Linked DNA regions of Homo sapiens: region 1 is linked to region 2. Evidence: promoter capture Hi-C in human tissues and cell types (Jung and others, 2019). All regions are on one chromosome and are shown on one strand. The core of a region is centred on a gene start or on the middle of the fragment in contact, and the rest is flanking DNA. Distances in the headings are between cores, read along the strand shown.

Region 1 (3,747 bases), core at 1,006-3,505, 340 kb before region 2:
CTCCCCATCCACCTCACTGAAAGCTACCTCCGCTCAATAAAACCTTGCACCCATCCTCCAAGCCCACGTGTGATCTGATTTTTCTGGTACACCACAGCAAGAACCCGGGATACAGAAAGCCCTCTGTCCTTGGGATAAGGCAGAGGGTCTAATTGAGCTGATTAACACAAGCTGCCTGCAGACAGCAAAACAGAAAGAGCACACTGTAACACATGCCCACTGGGGCTTCTGAAGCTGCAAACACTCAACCCTAGAGGCTGACACGGGGTCGGAGCCCCATGACCTGCTCCTCTGCATGCTCCCCCTAGGGGTTTGAGTAGCAGGGCACCAAATAAGCCAGTCATTTCACGTCCCTGTCACAAGCCCTGTGAGGGGGATAAGGGAACTTTTCCCACTTCAGTTTGGCTTAAAATGTATTGCAAAAAGATAAGGATTGACTCCCATATTTGGAAACGCATCCAAGTATCTCTATCTAATATTACTGTTTCCAAAGCAAAATAATAATAACATCACCATTATTTTATGTTTCTTAATAAAAACATAATAAAAGATAATTGAATAATACTATCCAAATTATGGTGTAAGGGCACATACCATACTGAAATGTAACAGCTTCACCGCGTGTACTTTTTCTAAATTTCTTATCCTTATACCCCTCAATAAACCTCAGGTAAAACAACACAAAAAATATTAACAATGGAATGATCAAAGAATAATACATGCCACAATTCCAGTTAAAAATATTATAGAGAAAAATGCTAATTTTACATGCGACAGAAGCAAAATGCAGCAGCAGTCCTCTGATTTTATAACATTAGTTATTGTTTTCAACTAAAACCTACTCAATCTTTAATTATCAGTTAGGTCAGTTAAGTGCCCCAGGGATCTGAACAAGTTGATTTCAATCCCTTATGTGGCTTAACGCTTTATATAGAAAGGTACTTGTCATATCCTGAATCGGAGTCAATGTGTGTGAAATTGCTTTCAGTGTATCACAAGAAAGACTTTATTACTACAATTTTGAAACCATTAAGTACATTTAACATCTTCTTTTTCACTCTTCAATTCACTTTAGGTAAAGTTTATTTCTAAACATATGAGAATAATCCAAAAACAAAAATGTAAGATTATTTATCTTTTGTAATAATCAATTAACATTTTGGAAAACATGTTGTAAGTAGATATTGTTAAATTAATTACAAAAGTAATGAATTAGAAAAATAAAACATTTACTGACTTTTCCCAGATCTTGTTTTCTAGATCTAAATTCTACCCCAGGCTATTTATGTAGAAACTTCAATTCAAATTAGTGATGGTTACAGATGGATATCTAATGGGAGAATTTTGCCTCCGGTCTCTTCAAGCATGGTACTTTTAAAGAAAGCTTCTAACAATGCAAGTGATGCTCATTAACTAATTAGTGTACAGAAATTGAACAGAGACCCTGACCTTATTTGGTTGAATTGAGTTATAACCTCAAACAGAACATCAATAAACCCTTCATGGTAGACAAAAATATAGAAGTAGAAAAAAATTCCACTAAAACATGTCATTAAAAAGCTGTGGTTTTATTATGCCTTATTTTTTACAAACATGACTTTAAGACATTTATTCTAGGTCTCATTTTTACTTTGTACATGTAAAAACAATAATGGATTTTTTCCAGTTCAGCATACCTGTTAATGATTTTACAAACAATCATTAATCAACAGCATTGCCAGAGGGGACAGAAGTTATATTAACACTGTTATATCATTATCTTTATGTTCATAACTTCACTGGCTTAAACAGAGTATTTCTGTTTTATTACACGCCTAAAGAATCATATTCTCAGCAATTGCACATAAGTCCCCAAATCCCTGCTTTCTCTCCTTTTAGTTAGGAAAGGAGGGACTCACATGTCCTCATCTCTAAAAAGTGTATATTTTAAATTCTTTTGTGACTCAATAAGACTAGCTTCTAGTACATATCAAATATCTTATGAGAATGTCTGATGACTATCAATAGTACCCCAGAGTGTATGATTAAAACAAATAAATTATATTTCATCATCATGTCTCTGACCCAAAGTGATGTTGAAATAAAAATATTTCTTTTGTTTTAATCATAAGTATAATTACTATTCTTTAACCTCTGATATATATACACATATATGTGTATATATATTATCTCTTCAACTACAACTCCTGTATATATATGAATATAACTATTATTTAACATCTGATATATATATGTATGTATATATATATCAGTAGATACAGAAAATTCTATAGAAAGAGACAAATCCATAGAAAGAAAAAATTTTCTTTTAAACACGTTAATGGTAAATTTTGTGAGGGTATAGGACTTTTGTCTCAAATGTCAATTTATTTCAACTGTCATGTAACTCCCATTAAAGTACTTAAGAAAGTTATGAGATCTTCTTTCATTTTTATATAATCATTTTCCTGTGTAAATACATATGACTATTTTTATTTATTCTTGAAATTCAGGAATTTTAGTACTATATATCTGTTTTTTTAAATATTGCCACAGACTTAATGAGTACCTTTCATTTAAAAACTACTATAAAAATTCAACTTAAGGTTATAGTTTTTTGTTATTATTATTATTTTATATTGAGATGGAGTCTCGCTCTGTCACCCAGGCTGGAGTGCAGTGGCGTGATCTTGGCTCACTGCAACCTTCGCCTCCCAGGTTCAGGGGATTCTCCTGCCTCAGCCTCCCAAGAAGCTGGGATTACAGGCACCCACCACCAAGTCCAGCTAATTTTTGTATTTTTAGTAGAGACGGGGTTTCACCATGTTGGCCAAGCTGGTCTTGAACTCCTGATGTCGTGATTCACCTGCCTTGGCCTCCCAAAGTGCTGGGATTACAGATGTGAGCCACTGCTCCCAACCATTATTTTTTTTTAATTACAAACATATCATCTTTGTAAAATAATTATCTTCAAAATCAGTAACACTTTGCATTTTAGGTCTCATCATTTATGTCATAATTTCTCCAACATTTATTATTTGTCATGTGCTACAATCTTCCATATCTCTTATATATTTGTTATAAACAAAGTTTCAGTGCCTCAAAAGAAATAGCACTCGAACATAAAATTTTCTTTTTAATTCTCAGCAAGGCAAGTTACTTCTATAGAAGGGTGCACCCTTACAGAAGGAGCAATGGTGAGTGCACACTTGGATAAGGGAGGGGAAGGAGTTCGTACCCCTGACACAAGTGGCCCCTGCTGCTGTCTCATTCCCCTATTGGCTAGGGTTAGACTGCACAGGCTAAACTAATTCTGATTGGCTAATTTAAAGAGAGTGATGGGGTGAGTGGTTTGGTGGGAAAAATGGTTTTGACAGAGCAGGTAATCAGAATGAGTCAGGTGGAGTAGGTAATCGGAATGAGTCAGGGTGGAGCAGGCAGTAGAAAAAGGTTGCTTTATGAGGAAGTTAAGTTTAAAAGTAGTAGGCAAAGAATTGGACATACTGACATATTGATTATTTGAAAAGAAATTTAGAACTCATATCTAACAACCCCTCTTCTTGCACTGCCTTACAGCTCTTTCTTTTCAAACTTTTTAACATGTCTTGGCTTAGTTGTTCTGCTTGATTTTCCAAAAGAAGCAGCTTCTCTGGTTAAGGTGGAAGATAGTTAAGGGAGGTTTTAGTAAGTGCCGTTTTTATGAGCCTCTGCACCAACCCACGGATGCACAGTGTGACACAGAACCTGACAAGAATAAGTACACCCATT
Region 2 (3,987 bases), core at 363-2,862:
GCCCTCCTTAACTCCTTGCCAGGAGGAAATGGCAACGTATCTCCAGGTCGGAAAACGACTCTACTTTTCCCGCAGGTTGTGGTGGTGTATTCTTGGGTCATTCATTACCAGAAAGCAGCAAAGGACCTTCCTATCTCTTTGCATAAAAAGGAGATTGAATAGGGGCTTCTTTCGTGAATAAACAACCAATTCCTTGCTAGTGGCCCATTAATTAAAAATATATATTTATAGATCTTTCCTTAGAGAACTGGCATTCTATCCACTCTCCAGCATTAAAGAGTTCGCGCTGTGTTTTAACTTCACAAGAACTAGCTATGTGGATGTGCCGCGTTGCCCCTGCGCCTCCGGAAGGGGCACTCACAGCTGGTCAAGCGCGTCCTTCGGAACTCGGGGAGGCTCCGTTGGGGCTTACACAGAGCTAAGCCCTGGGCCAGGGAGGATGGATGCAAGTACCGTGCATGTGCAAACGTGTTCGCAGATACCCGCAGCGGTGCACACTCGGGCCCCTCGTGTGCACGGGCCCTGCCCACCACCCCGCCCGCGTTCGCCGCCGCCCCACTGTCCTCATCCCGCGGGCTGACCCCAGGATTGGCAGAAATCAGTGGTCTAATCTAGCATGGTGGGTAAAGGGATCGATCTCCAATTGCCAAAAAAAAAATAGAAAATAGCCGGTGTTCCCAGCCGCTGCGTGGCACTTGGCCGCACAAGGCGCAGGGATATCAGAGGCGCTTTGCAGCGCTTGGCGGTGCTGTGTGCCGGATGCCCCAGAGCCCGGCGTTAGGATGGCGGGCTTGTAGGAAGCGGCTCAAATCAACTCCTCAGTCACTGATGAACGCGCTCACGGCTCGAAGCTAGGTCCTCGAGTGAGTTAATCTACTTGGTAAGTATTTTGTGAATATGTATTTTGGGAGGAAAGAAGCACGTCGAACGCGTCTGCCCGTCTGTAAGCGCTGTCATCCCCACATCCTTTAGCGTGAATTCCTCCGCTTTTTAGGAGTCACCTCCACCCCCTACTCCGTATGCTTCGCGCCTTTCCTCACGGCCCCGTCAGACCCCCTCACCTTTAGATTGACACATGCCATATAATACTCACTTTTAAAATGCCCTGCCAGTCTCTGCTAGGGTCCCTTAATTAGGTAACCCTTGCCAATTAGTGGGCCCTGCGCTACTTTTTCCCTTCTCGATGATTTATTTCCATGATGCGTATTAGGGAAAATACCTTAAAGGAAAAAGAATGTTAGCATCATTGGAAATCCCGCTCCTAGGAGAGGATATCGCAGCTGTTGCTATTATGTTTTCGCATTTGCTGATGCAAACAGGGGAACCTCTCTATTCCCTCCCCATTACCTGCGGCTGGGGACTGGGAACTTTCCGCGGCATTGTCCCCAGCCAGCGCCTCGGGACCTGCGGGGCTGTTCTCGCTCTCACACTCACACTCACCCCGGCCGCTCGGGCGAGAGTTCTGTCCCGCCCCGCCCGGCTGCCGCGTGACGTGTCTGTTTGGCGGCCAGTTTGGCCAATCATCGGCAGCTCGGTGGGTGGTGCTCCTGGGCGATTGGTTGGCAGAATGAGGGCGCTGCGCAAAAACGGAGAAGCCGAGCGCTCGGAGCTCAGAAACTGCCAGCCCAGACCACAGGCTCAGAGGCTGAAGCAGGAGGAAGGAAGGACTGGAAGGAAAAAGAGACAGGTTAGAGGGAAAGAGGCTTGGGAAGAAAACAGCAGAAAAGAAACTGCTCATTACACTTACAGAGAGGCAAGTAACGGTGGAGATGAGGACAGAGGGAACCAAGACTCTGAAAGACAAAAAATACAAATAGAGCGAAAGAGGAAAAAAATGTCAAGAAGAACATCCATCCGGAGAAATGAAGAGAATGAAAGTTTTAAGCTGCAGAGCCGTTCTGTGCTTTTCCGGCACAAAATTATATCGCTGATTTTAAGCCCTTTTGCATTTGCCAGCCGTTGACATTAAGAGGCATGTTTAACGGTGCCAACAGCATCTCCTTTTCCTTCTCCTCTTCCTCTTCTTCTTCTTCCTCCTCCTCCTCCTCTTTTTCCTCCTCCTCGTTCTCCTCCCATCAGCAAGAAGACAAACCGAGGACAGTCTTGAAATATCGAAATTTCCTCTTTGGGATTTGCCAGCGCCAAGACTGTCGGAATAAAGGACGCTGACTATTGTATTATTGTTATTTTATTAATTAGTCAGTGGAAAGATTACAGATGAGGAAAGGGGACGCCTGTCACCCTTCCTGTGCTAAGATTTAAAAAAAAATGAGGCTGGATTGCGGGAAGCTCTAAAATGAAGCAAAAGGAGTAAGATTTTTAAAGACAGAAAGCCACAGGAGCCCCCACGTAGCGCACTTTTATTTGTATTTTTTCAGATTTTTTTTTGTTTCGTGGTGGTGGGGGAGGTGATTGGGTGGCTGACTGGCTGCGGGAAGCTACTTCCTTTCCTTTTGGAGATGATTGTGCTATTATTGTTTGCCTTGCTCTGGATGGTGGAAGGAGTCTTTTCCCAGCTTCACTACACGGTACAGGAGGAGCAGGAACATGGCACTTTCGTGGGGAATATCGCTGAAGATCTGGGTCTGGACATTACAAAACTTTCGGCTCGCGGGTTTCAGACGGTGCCCAACTCAAGGACCCCTTACTTAGACCTCAACCTGGAGACAGGGGTGCTGTACGTGAACGAGAAAATAGACCGCGAACAAATCTGCAAACAGAGCCCCTCCTGTGTCCTGCACCTGGAGGTCTTTCTGGAGAACCCCCTGGAGCTGTTCCAGGTGGAGATCGAGGTGCTGGACATTAATGACAACCCCCCCTCTTTCCCGGAGCCAGACCTGACGGTGGAAATCTCTGAGAGCGCCACGCCAGGCACTCGCTTCCCCTTGGAGAGCGCATTCGACCCAGACGTGGGCACCAACTCCTTGCGCGACTACGAGATCACCCCCAACAGCTACTTCTCCCTGGACGTGCAGACCCAGGGGGATGGCAACCGATTCGCTGAGCTGGTGCTGGAGAAGCCACTGGACCGAGAGCAGCAAGCGGTGCACCGCTACGTGCTGACCGCGGTGGACGGAGGAGGTGGGGGAGGAGTAGGAGAAGGAGGGGGAGGTGGCGGGGGAGCAGGCCTGCCCCCCCAGCAGCAGCGCACCGGCACGGCCCTACTCACCATCCGAGTGCTGGACTCCAATGACAATGTGCCCGCTTTCGACCAACCCGTCTACACTGTGTCCCTACCAGAGAACTCTCCCCCAGGCACTCTCGTGATCCAGCTCAACGCCACCGACCCGGACGAGGGCCAGAACGGTGAGGTCGTGTACTCCTTCAGCAGCCACATTTCGCCCCGGGCGCGGGAGCTTTTCGGACTCTCGCCGCGCACTGGCAGACTGGAGGTAAGCGGCGAGTTGGACTATGAAGAGAGCCCAGTGTACCAAGTGTACGTGCAAGCCAAGGACCTGGGCCCCAACGCCGTGCCTGCGCACTGCAAGGTGCTAGTGCGAGTACTGGATGCTAATGACAACGCGCCAGAGATCAGCTTCAGCACCGTGAAGGAAGCGGTGAGTGAGGGCGCGGCGCCCGGCACTGTGGTGGCCCTTTTCAGCGTGACTGACCGCGACTCAGAGGAGAATGGGCAGGTGCAGTGCGAGCTACTGGGAGACGTGCCTTTCCGCCTCAAGTCTTCCTTTAAGAATTACTACACCATCGTTACCGAAGCCCCCCTGGACCGAGAGGCGGGGGACTCCTACACCCTGACTGTAGTGGCTCGGGACCGGGGCGAGCCTGCGCTCTCCACCAGTAAGTCGATCCAGGTACAAGTGTCGGATGTGAACGACAACGCGCCGCGTTTCAGCCAGCCGGTCTACGACGTGTATGTGACTGAAAACAACGTGCCTGGCGCCTACATCTACGCGGTGAGCGCCACCGACCGGGATGAGGGCGCCAACGCCCAGCTTGCCTACTCTATCCTCGAGTGCCAGATCCAGGGCA

The links. The method cuts DNA at HindIII sites, captures the fragments that hold promoters and counts their contacts. A contact is called where the count stands out against the background at its distance.
Region 1: a fragment that was not itself captured here is called in contact with the fragment with the promoter of PCDH10 in region 2 in 2 of the 25 tissues and cell types used here (hippocampus and thymus).

The regions. Positions count from the first base shown.
Region 1 is chr4:132,809,555-132,813,301 of GRCh38, forward strand. No RefSeq gene overlaps it. Among named protein-coding and RNA genes, the nearest start is that of LINC01256, 220 kb to the left of the region's middle. RefSeq lists an enhancer at 1-385. The HindIII fragment of the contact is 5,459 bases long and covers 1-3,747 here.
Region 2 is chr4:133,147,682-133,151,668 of GRCh38, forward strand. It overlaps PCDH10 (protocadherin 10), which reads left to right and starts at 1,613. Exons shown (of 5, transcript NM_032961.3): 1 at 1,613-3,987. The coding sequence starts at 2,460. It overlaps PCDH10-DT (PCDH10 divergent transcript), which reads right to left and starts at 1,435. Exons shown (of 9, transcript NR_125885.1): 1 at 1,348-1,435. RefSeq lists an enhancer at 1,357-1,416 and a silencer at 1,527-1,666. The HindIII fragment of the contact is 10,822 bases long and covers 1-3,987 here.